3 separate regions of the Homo sapiens genome follow, and regions 1 and 3 are each linked to region 2. Evidence: promoter capture Hi-C in 16 types of primary human blood cells and fetal thymus (Javierre and others, 2016). All regions are on one chromosome and are shown on one strand. Each heading gives the region's core, a stretch centred on a gene start or on the middle of the fragment in contact. The rest is flanking DNA. Distances are from core to core; before and after follow the strand shown.

The links. The method cuts DNA at HindIII sites, captures the fragments that hold promoters and counts their contacts. A CHiCAGO score of 5 or more calls a contact.
Region 1: the fragment with the promoter of TNFSF12 here is called in contact with the fragment with the promoter of ZBTB4 in region 2 in 13 of 17 cell types (total CD8 T cells, naive CD4 T cells, naive B cells and 10 more); the score reaches 9.5 in total CD8 T cells.
Region 3: a contact is called between a fragment that was not itself captured here and the fragment with the promoter of ZBTB4 in region 2, in 1 of 17 cell types (naive B cells). The highest score is 5.9, in naive B cells.

Annotation. Positions count from the first base shown.
Region 1 is chr17:7,547,505-7,551,347 of GRCh38, forward strand. It overlaps TNFSF12 (TNF superfamily member 12), which reads left to right and starts at 1,554. Exons shown (of 7, transcript NM_003809.3): 1 at 1,554-1,808; 2 at 1,970-2,017; 3 at 2,616-2,691; 4 at 3,295-3,348; 5 at 3,439-3,474. The coding sequence starts at 1,650. It overlaps TNFSF12-TNFSF13 (TNFSF12-TNFSF13 readthrough), which reads left to right and starts at 1,554. Exons shown (of 11, transcript NM_172089.4): 1 at 1,554-1,808; 2 at 1,970-2,017; 3 at 2,616-2,691; 4 at 3,295-3,348; 5 at 3,439-3,474. The coding sequence starts at 1,650. RefSeq lists silencers at 1,449-1,638, 1,669-1,748. The HindIII fragment of the contact is 9,939 bases long and covers 1-3,843 here.
Region 2 is chr17:7,477,362-7,481,334 of GRCh38, forward strand. ZBTB4 (zinc finger and BTB domain containing 4) reads right to left here and starts at 2,270. Exons shown (of 4, transcript NM_001128833.2): 1 at 2,095-2,270. RefSeq lists silencers at 1,577-1,626, 1,887-2,346, 2,367-2,626. The HindIII fragment of the contact is 9,560 bases long and covers 480-3,973 here.
Region 3 is chr17:7,385,863-7,389,410 of GRCh38, forward strand. It overlaps TNK1 (tyrosine kinase non receptor 1), which reads left to right. Exons shown (of 13, transcript NM_003985.6): 8 at 699-793; 9 at 1,128-1,292; 10 at 1,516-1,595; 11 at 2,544-2,842; 12 at 2,926-3,021; 13 at 3,109-3,548. The coding sequence ends at 3,222. Among named protein-coding and RNA genes, the nearest start is that of TNK1, 6.5 kb to the left of the region's middle. The HindIII fragment of the contact is 3,374 bases long and covers 163-3,536 here.

The DNA of each region.
Region 1 (3,843 bases), core at 304-2,803, 69 kb after region 2:
TGAAAATTTTCTGGAGATTCTAACTGCTTTTCTTTCTTTGCATACTCTTTTTTTTTTTTTTTTTTTTGACAGGGTCTTACTCTGTTGCTCGTGTTGGAATGCAGTGGTGTGATCACAGCTCACTGCAGCCTCAACCTCCCAGGCTCAGGTGATCCTCCCATCTCAACCTCCTGAGTAGCTGGGACTACAGGCATGCACCACCATGCCCAGCTCTATGGATGCTTTTTCTTGACTCTCTTTAAGTATATTAGGTAGTACTCTTTGTATCCTGAATTATCTCTGTTTCCTCCAATGTCAAATTTTGTTTGTTAATTTTGGTCTTTCTTTCTTTTTTTTTTTTTTTGAGATAGGGTCTTGCTGTGTTGCCCAGGCTGGAGTGTGGTGGCGTGATCTCAGCTCTCTGCAACCTCTGTCTCCTGGGTTCAAGCAATTCTCTGCCTCAGCTTCCCGAGTAGCTGGGAACTACAGGCGCCTGCCACCACGTCCGGCTAATTTTTTTGTATTTTTATTAGAGACAGGGTTTCACCATCTTGGCCAGGCAGGTCTCGATCTCCTGACCTCGTGATCCACCCGCCTCAGCCTCCCAAAGTGCTGCGATTACAGGCGTGAACCATCGCGCCCAGCCAATTTTGGTCCTTCCTTCCTTCCTTCCTTCCTTCCTTCCTTCCTTCCTTCCTTCCCTCCTTCCCTCCCTCCCTCCCTCCCTCCTTTCTTTCTTTCTTCCTTTCTTTCTTTCTTTTTGAGACAAGGTCTGTTGCCCAGGCTGGAGTGTAGTGGTGCAATCACAGCTCACTGCAGCCTCAAACTCCTGGGCTCAAACAATCCTCCTACCTCGGCCTCCTGAGTAGCTGGGACTACAGGCGTGGGCTAATTTTTTAAAACTTTTCTGTAGAGATGGGGTCTTGCTCTTGCCCAGGCTGATCTTGAACTCCTGGCCCCCAGCCTTGGCCTTCTGGGATTACAGGCGTAAGCCACCTGCCGGACCAATTTTGGTGTTTCTTTTGCATGCTGCTGGTCCTCCTCAGATGCTTGGCAATCATTGGTAATGATGGGCTTCAGAACGTGCTACCGGCACAGTGAGTGTTTTAAGCTGAAGGAATTTGAGAAAACCGCAGAAGCCGAAGGATCTTTCTTACCTTCTCCTGCCCTTCTTCCCTGAACCAGGTCATACAACCTGGAACTCCCTGCCCTTTTCCTGAAGAAGCAAATAACAGCCTCCTGCGAGAGGCGCCCTCCCTGCACCTGGGGGAAAGGAGGGTCCTTATCTCTGAAGACACAGGGACACAGAAGAATCTGAACCAACAGGCCTTCCTGAGTTCCCCACCTCCCCGCAGGAGGTGCCCGCACACGCATAGCCCCGTCGCTCCCGCGGCCGCACGCAACGGACCTCGCCCTGGTGGTGCACGCCCGGGCTGGGCGCTCAGAGGTCGGGTGGGCGCCCACTCCGTTCGCTGCGCGCACAGCGCCCGGCGAGAGGCTCGGAGTTTGATCACACACAGCGTCCGGCTTCCTGTCCCCAGCGCCCCCTCCCGCCCCGTTTCCCTTGCCCCTCCCTCTCCCCGGCCCGATCCGCCCGCCGGCTCCCCCTCCCCCGATCCCTCGGGTCCCGGGATGGGGGGGCGGTGAGGCAGGCACAGCCCCCCGCCCCCATGGCCGCCCGTCGGAGCCAGAGGCGGAGGGGGCGCCGGGGGGAGCCGGGCACCGCCCTGCTGGTCCCGCTCGCGCTGGGCCTGGGCCTGGCGCTGGCCTGCCTCGGCCTCCTGCTGGCCGTGGTCAGTTTGGGGAGCCGGGCATCGCTGTCCGCCCAGGTGAGGCCCCGCTGCGCACCCCTTCTTGGGCACATCAGGAGCTGAGACTGCAGAGGGGCCGCTGGGGGCCGCGTGGGCTGAAGGCAAGGGGAAGGGAGGATGGGTGGAGGGTGAGATGTCAGGTGGAGCGGCACAGGGTGACGCTCCCTCCTTCCCAGCAGGAGCCTGCCCAGGAGGAGCTGGTGGCAGAGGAGGACCAGGACCCGTCGGTGAGTGGGCGTGGGCGCGGTCTGCAGGCTGCTGGGGCATGGGAAGTGTGCACAGCCGAGGCTGCAGGTGTGTGCAGCTGTGCCAGCCGTACTCGAGGTGTGTGCAGGGTGTGTGTGAACACAGTGCGTGCATGGGTGCGTGTCTGCAGGGGTGTGTGTGCGTGGTGACAACTCTGTGTGAGGGGTTTGTGCTGGGGTTGTGCCACCTGAGTCTGAGGTGTTTATTGGCTGGGGGTGACGTGGTTGTATAAGATATGTGAGTCTGCGTGGAAGAGGGGTGCGGTTGTGTACAGGGTGTGTATCCTCTGTGCGTGGTGACTGGGTGCGGGCATGTGTGCAATGTGCCAATTGAATGCAGGGTCTGCGTTGGTTGTGTGTGTGGGTGGGAAAGTGTAGCTGGTCTAGAGGAAAGGGTGAGGACTGGGGCCTGACTCCCAGCTTCACCTTTGCCCGGGGCCCCAGCTGTAGTTGGCTGAGGGGCTTAATCTGTCCCTGACTTCTGTGTCTATTGCTGGCTGGTGGCTCTCCTGACAGGCCCCGTATGTCTCACTTTATATCTCTGGGAGTCTGTGGTTGAACCCTGCCCTAATTCCCCTAGGAACTGAATCCCCAGACAGAAGAAAGCCAGGATCCTGCGCCTTTCCTGAACCGACTAGTTCGGCCTCGCAGAAGTGGTGAGCATCCCTCTATCCCAACCTCAGGAAGCGGGCAGAGCAAAAACCATTATCCACAGGGAGAAACTGAGGCACGGAGGGTGAAAGGAGTTCAGAGTCATGCAGCTAACCAGCCAAGACTCAAACCTAGGGATTCTCGCCCTCCTCTGAAGCTCCTTCTGTCATATGGATGTGCTCCTTCAGACCCTACCCCAAACAGGAAGGCAGGGTGGCCATGAGTTAGAAGAACTACTGGGATCCTGATGGAGACTAGGCCTGGCAGTCAGAGGCCTGGGCCCCGGTAGGCAAAGAGACTTAGGAATGGGATGATGGGGTGGCCGGATGACCACGTGTCCAAGTCGGCATGCAGTTGTCCTGGCCCCCACCTGTTATCTCGGTGTGATTAATAGCAGCTTCCCGTTTTGCTCTCAGCAGTATCCCAGTGTGGATGACAAATTATAGTCACTCTACTTACTGAGGAAGATGAGGCCTGAGATTCTAAGGCCAGGAGTCTGGACAAGAATAAGGATGCCAGGGTTCCTGAGAGGGGAATGGGGCTGGGAGAGTTGCTCTGGGACCCCCACTAGGGCCCGCTTTGCTCATCTGTCTTTCCTTGATCCTCAGCACCTAAAGGCCGGAAAACACGGGCTCGAAGAGCGATCGCAGCCCATTATGAAGGTGGGTGATGGGTGAGCCATACCCAGGAGGAGAGGGGCAGGTGGCAGAGGGTCAGGGCAGGTCTCACCAGCCTTTTCCTGTACTTTACAGTTCATCCACGACCTGGACAGGACGGAGCGCAGGCAGGTGAGACCCCATCCCCCGACACAGCACTGGCCTCCTGGGAAAAGGGCCCTTGAAAACCTTTGACCTCCCACTCCCTTCCCGGCCATCAGTCTCAGAACCACAGAAGCCAGTTCATGAAGGTCTTGGTTCTCTCTGTGACCCAGGCGTGGGACCCCATGAAAGACCCCTACTCTTCCCCAGAACTCTGCCCAGTTCCCCCAGCAAATCACTGTCCCAGCTCTCTCCTTCAGCCCTCATTCTTCTCCAAGAAGCACTTTTCATTCTTTTTTCTTCTGTCTCCTCCATATTCCACGTTCTGATGATCTTTTTCTCTAAATGCTGCTAGTGTCTGCTCATCTTTTCCATTTCTACCCCACCCTCTACCTCAGC
Region 2 (3,973 bases), core at 1,020-3,519:
CGCCAGAGCTCCTCAGCCCTGGACCATGGCTCCTTTCTCTTCACCAGACCGTCACTGTGCACCTGTTGAGCAGGCTCCCACGGCAGCCACCCCTTCCCAGCCCCCCATGCCGGAGGGCCTGTCCGCAGCACCCTCCCTTCCCCCACGTACACACATCCTTCCAGTGGGGCCGGGCACAGTAGACAGTGGTGTGCAGGCTTGGAATGCACTTGCACACACACCCCTAGAAGGGCCCAGTCCCCAAAGGTGAGGAAAACCTGTTCTGAGGAATCTGCCTAGTGAGCGAATTCTGTTCTGAGGCCCTTCCACCGTCGCAGGAGTGGGGCCCAGTGTGCGTCAGAGATACCCACAAGGGGGGCAGAGAGAGGGAGAGGGTGAAGCAGGAGGAGGCTGAAAACTTCACGTTTCTTTTTTCCATTTTAGTGACAAGAGTCACACCCAGCCTTTACATAAACATGGCCAAGGAGCCTCTCTGTCTAAGCTTACTTCCCTTGTGGCCGCCCAGCCTCTCCTCCGGGTGACCCTGACACGCTGGGCAGGCTCATGAGGGGCAAACATACAGACCCTGCAAAGATTAGCTGGGCCATCTGACAACACCCATGCCTCCCGCCGGCCTCCATGCGCTACCCTGCATTTATCTCCCGCCTTCCTCATACCAAATCCCCTCCGCAGCCCCACCGCCACTTAAGCACACAGACGGCAGGCACGCACACACAGCCTGCTTGCGGCTGGCCTCTTGGGTCTGAGGCCCACACTGCCCTTGTCACGCCACCTCCCTCCCCACATGTGTTTTCTGACCAGTTTGCCTCCCAGCTCAGCAGCCCAGACAGGCTCCTACAAACAACGTCACAAAAGAATCCTGTGGAGAATGTTGCAAACACACAACCTTCCCCTCGCTTGGCTGCCCATGATCCCATAAACACAACTGGCGCATTCCACCTCGAGCCCCTCACACCAGTGCCAACTGACCCACAGGCCCCTGAGACATACCCCGGGGTTCCTCGCTCCTCTCATGATCTTTGGGATCTGAGTTCTAGACGCGCAGCCCCCATGCAACGCGCTCATCACAGACACGCAAACCCATCCATCGCCCTCTTCACCACTGGACCACACCTCAGCAGGGCCACAGAAATGGGACCCAGACGTGACGCCTTCTGACTCAAAGGCCCACAACCGCCCCCTCCAAAAGGGCACATACACTGCATCCTGGCACCCTCCGCAACACATACAGCATGCCAGCTCTGCAGAAAACAGTTCATAAACAGGTCATAGGTGCAGCACAAGACACACATGCGAGAAAACACATGCTGTAGAAAACATACAGCCCCACATCGAACAAACTCTGCACCCAGCATGCTGTGCCCTGCTCAGAATACCCATCTGTCACCCAAAGCCACAGGGCTCGTCTTGTAACTCTGCCCCACAACACTGGACACCCTTCCTGGCTTTCTATCTCCATGGCCCAGGGAGGGCCCTACCCAGACCCCTGGCTGCCAGCAAACGGTGGTGCCCAGGAGAGGTTTACCTTGCCCCACCACACAGCACAAGACACACGATCTCCAAGACTCACAGCCACAACCCTGCCCCGACGGCGCGGCGGTTCCGGGGCCCCAGCTCGCCCTGCGCACCCCGCACACCCCAACTCTGGGGCGCTCGGCGGCCCACCCCTCCCCCTCTCTGCCTGGCTCCTACGCCATCACCCTCCCAGCAGCTTGCAGCGCTTGCCCGGGCTCACACCCGCCCCACCCCACCCCCAATCTGCCCCACGGGGGGAGGGGGCCATTAGGCTGCAGAATTAACCCTTCAAAGAGGGAGTGAGCACCTCCCCTTCCACGGCCCCAGGCGATCGCGTCCCACGGCCGCCCCTCGCTCGGACGCCATACCAGGGCCCCCTTAGTCGCCCCCCAGCGTCGTGCGCGCCCGGGGGCGGGGCCAGGCTCAGCCCCCGACCCCTGCGCCCCCAGGTCAACCCCAAAGGAGAGCGGTCTGGGCGCGGGGCGCGGTCGGGGCTCCCGCAGCGCCGGGCAGCGGAGAGGGGGCCTGGCAGTTGGCTCCGGTCCGCCCTGGCCCTGCCCAGTTCGCCCCAGGGCCCACCTGACTGCGATGGCGCCGCGTCCGCCAGGCCCGGCTCATCACCGTGGCCGCCCCCGGCCGCTCCGGTTTTGCCCGCCTCCAGCTCCGGCTCCGGCTCCAGCTCCGGCCCTGGCCCCCCCAGCGCCTGGCCCCGGCCCGGCCCCGCTGCCGCCGCCGCCGCCGCCGCTGACATCATCGGCTCCCCCCGCCCCGGTCCTACCCCCACCCCCACCCCCGGAAACAGTCCCCCCCCAGCGCCGCCGCCGCCGCCGCCGAGAGGAGGCCGGCGCAGCGCAGCCGACACCGACACAAAGCTCCGAGCGCCCGACGGCCTTCCCCAGGACTGACCCCCGCGGCATGACACTGCGCCGCGCTGGGCCACCGGGCGGGTGGACACCGAGCGGGGCGCGGGCCGGGCTGCAGCATCCCGGCAGGGGCGCAAGACCACCGACCCCCAGGGAAAGGGCTCCCTCCGCCCTTCCTCCTGCACGCCCTTCACTCAGCGGTGCACACTGCCTGAAAGCATAACACACAGGCTCTCAGGGTGCAGACATGACATGGCAGACTCATAATCAGGCCCGGTGGGACTCACAGACCCAGGGTCGGCACACTCAAAGAGGGCCAGCCCTGGACACACACACACACCCTCTCCAGGAATGCGCAGGAAAGCTCAGCAGGCCGCGGAAAAAGAAGGCCCTGGCCCTGCATACGGGGCACACACGAACGACCACCAGCGCAAATGAACACATGAAGCTGGCTGGGTACTTTGTCCCCACCAGCAGATAGATCCACATCTGTATACTTGAACATAAATGCAGAGGCCTTGGTGTCGGCCTCTGGGGACAGCATCAACAAAACACCAGGTGGAAGCACACACAGAAAAAACACATTCCTGAAACTCCACAGGGACAATCCCAAGAACTCCTCCCTGGTGCTGGAAAATTAAAAACTAAGGAGATGGAGGAGCCAGGGTTCACAGCTCCTTGCCTTAAAACCTCTCTGAGGCTGGGCGCGGTGGCTCACGCCTGTAATCCCAGCACTTTGGGAGGCCGAGGTGGGCGGATCACGAGGTCAGGAGATCGAGACCATCCTGGCTAACACGGTGAAACCCTGTCTCTACTAAAAATACAAAAAAATTAGCCGGGCGTGGTGGCGGGCGCCTGTGGTCCCAGCTACTCGGGAGGCTGAGGCAGGAGAATGGCGTGAACCTGGGAGGCGGAGCTTGCAGTGAGCCGAGATCTCGCCACTGCACTCCAGCCTGGGCGACAGAGACAGACTCCGTCTCAAAAAAAAAACAACAACAAAAAAACCTCTCTGAAACCATGCAAGATATAAATAAACAAATTAATGTAAAGCCACAGAGCTAGCCATAAAAAGAATAAAAGAATCAGACAAACTTTGGAGTCATGGAGACATAAATAGAAAAGAAGCAGAGTTGGGCTGGGCACGGTGGCTCATGCCTGTAATTCCACCACTTTGGGAGGCGGGGGGTGGTGGGGTGGATCACTTGAGGTAAGGAGTTCAAGACCAGCATGGCCAACATGGAGAAACCCCATCTCTACGAAAAATAAAAAATTAGCGGGGTGTGGTGGCACATGCCTGTAATCCCAGGTACTTGGGAGGATGAGGTAGGAGAATTGCTTGAACCCAGGAGGTGGAGGTTGCGGTGAGCCGAGATTGCACGCACCACTGCACTCCAGCCTGGGCAAGAAGAGCAAAACTCCGTCCCAAAAAAAAAAAAAAAAATTAGCCAGGTGTAGTGGCACATTCTTGTAATCCCAGCTACTTGGGAGGCTGAGGCAGGAGAATCGCTTGAATCTGGGAGGTGGAGGTTGCAGTGAGATGAGATCACACCATTGCACTCCAGCCTGGATAACAAGAGTGGAAACTTCGTCGCAAA
Region 3 (3,548 bases), core at 600-3,099, 92 kb before region 2:
CCTGGATGAGGTAATTATTATCTCCATGTTACTGATGGGCAGTTGAGGCACTGAGAGTTTAAGTGACTTGCCTAAAGTCACATGGTAAGTGGAGGAGTTGGGATTTGAGCCAGTCAGTTTGACTTCAGAGCTGTTCCCTAAGCTGCTACACTCTACCACTAAAGCTTAGTCTTTACTCTGAAGGCATTTGGGAGCCAGGGAAGCCTATTAGGCAGGGGAGTTACAAGCCACTCTCACCATGACGGCACTCTGATGTGGCGCAAGAATGGATTAGAGGGATGATGCTGAGGCTGGGAGACCAGGTAGGCAACAGTGGCTGTGAAGCAGAAGGGAGATGAAGAGGTCTGGATGAGGGTAGAGGCGGTGGGGCTGCAGAGGAGTGGAAATTTCCCAGAGGGGCTTGGGAGGCTGCTCTGACAGGCCTGGATGTGGAGTGAAAGCAGTGTACAGGATGACGCTCCTGTTAGTCCCCCCAGGTAGAGCCAGGGCCCTCCTCTCTTGCTCCTTGAGCCCTGACCTGTTTGTCATGGGATCCAGGTCTGCCTCCCTCACTGAATTACAATGGGGGGACAGGGAGAGTCCCACCCTGGGCCCAGCACAGACTACATACAGAGCGGAGCTCCTCTTTATTCCTGCTCCCATATTACCTATCTGACTCAGGCCACAAGCCCAGCCACCCTTTCCTCTTGTCTCCACAGGCCGGGCCTTCGGAAGCATGTTGTGTGAGGGATGTCACAGAACCAGGCGCCCTGAGGATGGAGACTGGTGACCCCATCACAGTCATCGAGGGCAGGTGACAGTCCCATACCTCCCAAGCACCCTCAGGAGGAGGATACCCTCCCAGCCTAATTCCTGATCCCTTCTCTGCTTCTCTCCAGCTCCTTGAACCCTGATCTTCTGTCTCATCTCCTCTCCCCACTGGGTCCTGAAAGCTCCAGCATGGTCCTGGCCTCCCTGCTGGAGCCACTGCTGGCCCATAGAGCCTTATTGCATTAGGGAAAAGGCTTCCCTTCCTCCAGGCAGATGCGGCTCCAAGGCACATAGCCTAGTGAGCTGACTGTGGGCCAGGGCCCAGCCCTAACTCTTGCCCTTATTCCCATCCTATTTACCAGCTCCTCTTTCCACAGCCCCGACTCCACAATCTGGAAGGGCCAGAATGGTCGCACCTTCAAAGTGGGCAGCTTCCCAGCCTCGGCAGTGACGCTGGCAGATGCGGGGGGCTTGCCAGCCACCCGTCCAGTCCACAGAGGCACCCCTGCCCGGGGAGATCAACACCCAGGAAGCATAGATGGGTGAGGACCTGAAAGGGTGAGGGCAGGGGTTGGCTGGGAGAACTGATGAGGTCCAGGAGCTTCTCTGGAAGAGAAGCCTGGGGACAGGACCAGAGTGAAGCTGCAGCCTCCACCCTGGGCCCTGGGTCTCCTGGGTTCCCCTGTGAGTTTTTTTGGGAGGGTATATTGATCTGTGGGGTGGGGAGAGTTGGTGTGGAGGATGAACTGGATCCCTCTCCGACAGAGACAGAAAGAAGGCAAATCTTTGGGATGCGCCCCCAGCACGGGGCCAGAGGAGGAACATGCCCCTGGAGAGGATGAAAGGTGGGTGTGGTGGACTCCAGAGTCTCTGAGGAGATCAAGACCAGTCCTTCAATTCCGACCCCCTGCCCTAAATCCATGCCTTTGCATCTATTATTTCCTTCCTCTGAATTCTGTCTGCTGGCATCCTAGCTATACTGTGCAATCTATTTTTTTTTTTTTTTTTTGAGACAGAGTTTCACTCTTTTTGCCCAGGCTGGAGTGCAGTAGCGTGATCTTGGCTCACCGCAACCTCCACCTCCCGGGTTCAAGCGATTCTCCTGCCTCAGCCTCCCGAGTAGCTGGGACTACAGGCATGTGCCACCACACCCGGCTAATTTTGTATTTTTAGTAGAGATGAGGTTTCACCCTGTTGCCCAGGCTGGCCTTGAACTCCCCACCTCGGGTGATCTGCCTGCCTCGGCCTCTCAAAGTGCTGGGATTACAGGCGTGAGACACTGCGTCCGGCCCTATACTGTGGAATCTTAAAAGATAGGAAGCCCTCCTGCCTTCCCTTCTGAAGAGCACCTCCACACTCTGGGCCCTGAGCTCTGAGTTCTCTGGGCCCTCCGCCTAGGCCTTGGTGTCCACTTGCCCATCTGTCTTATTGTCCCACCTGACACATGAACCACCCAGGGACAGGGCTGGCTAGCTCATCTGCAAATGCTTGCAAAACCATCCAGCTCAGCACAGATGAAGACAGAGAGTGGGGCCAGGCATGGTGGCTCAAGCCTGTAATCCCAGCACTTTGGGAGCCCAGCGTGGGTGGATGGCTTGAGTCCAGGAGTTTGAGACCAGCCTGGGCAATGTGCCGAAACCCCTTCTCTACAAAAATACAAAAATTAGCCAGTCGTAATGGCAGGCACCTATAGTCCCAGCTACTCGGGAGGCTGAGGTGGGAGGATCGCTTGAGCCCGGGAGGCGGAGGCTGCAGCCAGCCGAGTTCAAGTTGTTTCCTTCTCAACTGTGCAGGCATTTCCAGGAGTCTGGAGTCAGTTCTGTCCCTCGGTCCTCGTCCCACAGGGGGTGGTTCAAGCCCCCCTGAAATTCGACAAGCCAGAGCTGTGCCCCAGGGACCTCCAGGCCTGCCTCCACGCCCACCTTTATCCTCTAGCTCTCCTCAGCCCAGCCAGCCCTCTAGGGAGAGGCTTCCCTGGCCCAAAAGAAAACCCCCACACAATCACCCCATGGGAATGCCTGGAGCCCGTAAAGCCGCTGCCCTCTCTGGAGGCCTCTTGTCCGATCCTGAGTTGCAGAGGAAGATTATGGAGGTGAGGTCTCACTGAAATGGCCTGGTGTCCAGAAGGGGCTACAGGCAGGGGCAGGGGCCTGAGTGAGGCTTTGTCTGTCACAGGTGGAGCTGAGTGTGCATGGGGTCACCCACCAGGAGTGCCAGACAGCACTAGGAGCCACTGGGGGAGATGTGGTTTCTGCCATCCGGAACCTCAAGGTAAAGCCAGCCCCTTCTCTTGGGGTCCCTCCTCTCCTGCCCCTGCCGCCTGGCAGTCAGCTGCAACCCACCCTCCTGCTTCCACAGGTAGATCAGCTCTTCCACCTGAGTAGCCGGTCCAGAGCTGACTGCTGGCGCATCCTGGAGCATTACCAGTGGGACCTCTCAGCTGCCAGCCGCTATGTCCTGGCCAGGCCCTGAGCTCAGCTTCTGCGGGCACAGACACCAGCATGAAAAGCCTAGGCCCCTGAGGGCCTGGCCACATGGGACCAAGCGGAACCAGAACAAGGTCCCGACAGGGGTAGACGTTCCACCTGGGGAGATCCCACCTGCCGTAGGCACATGGAGGAGGAGCCCAGAGTTGGGCACTGGCAAATGTCTCCTCCCTCCCATGCTCCTTGGCTTCTGAAGGCTGAAGCTCCTTTGGCTGGGCCAAGAAGGATCTAGTCTGCCCACTACATTCTCAAACAAGAGGACTTGGAAGAAAAGAGCTGCTATACATCATATGCAGAGGAAGCTTCTACGCG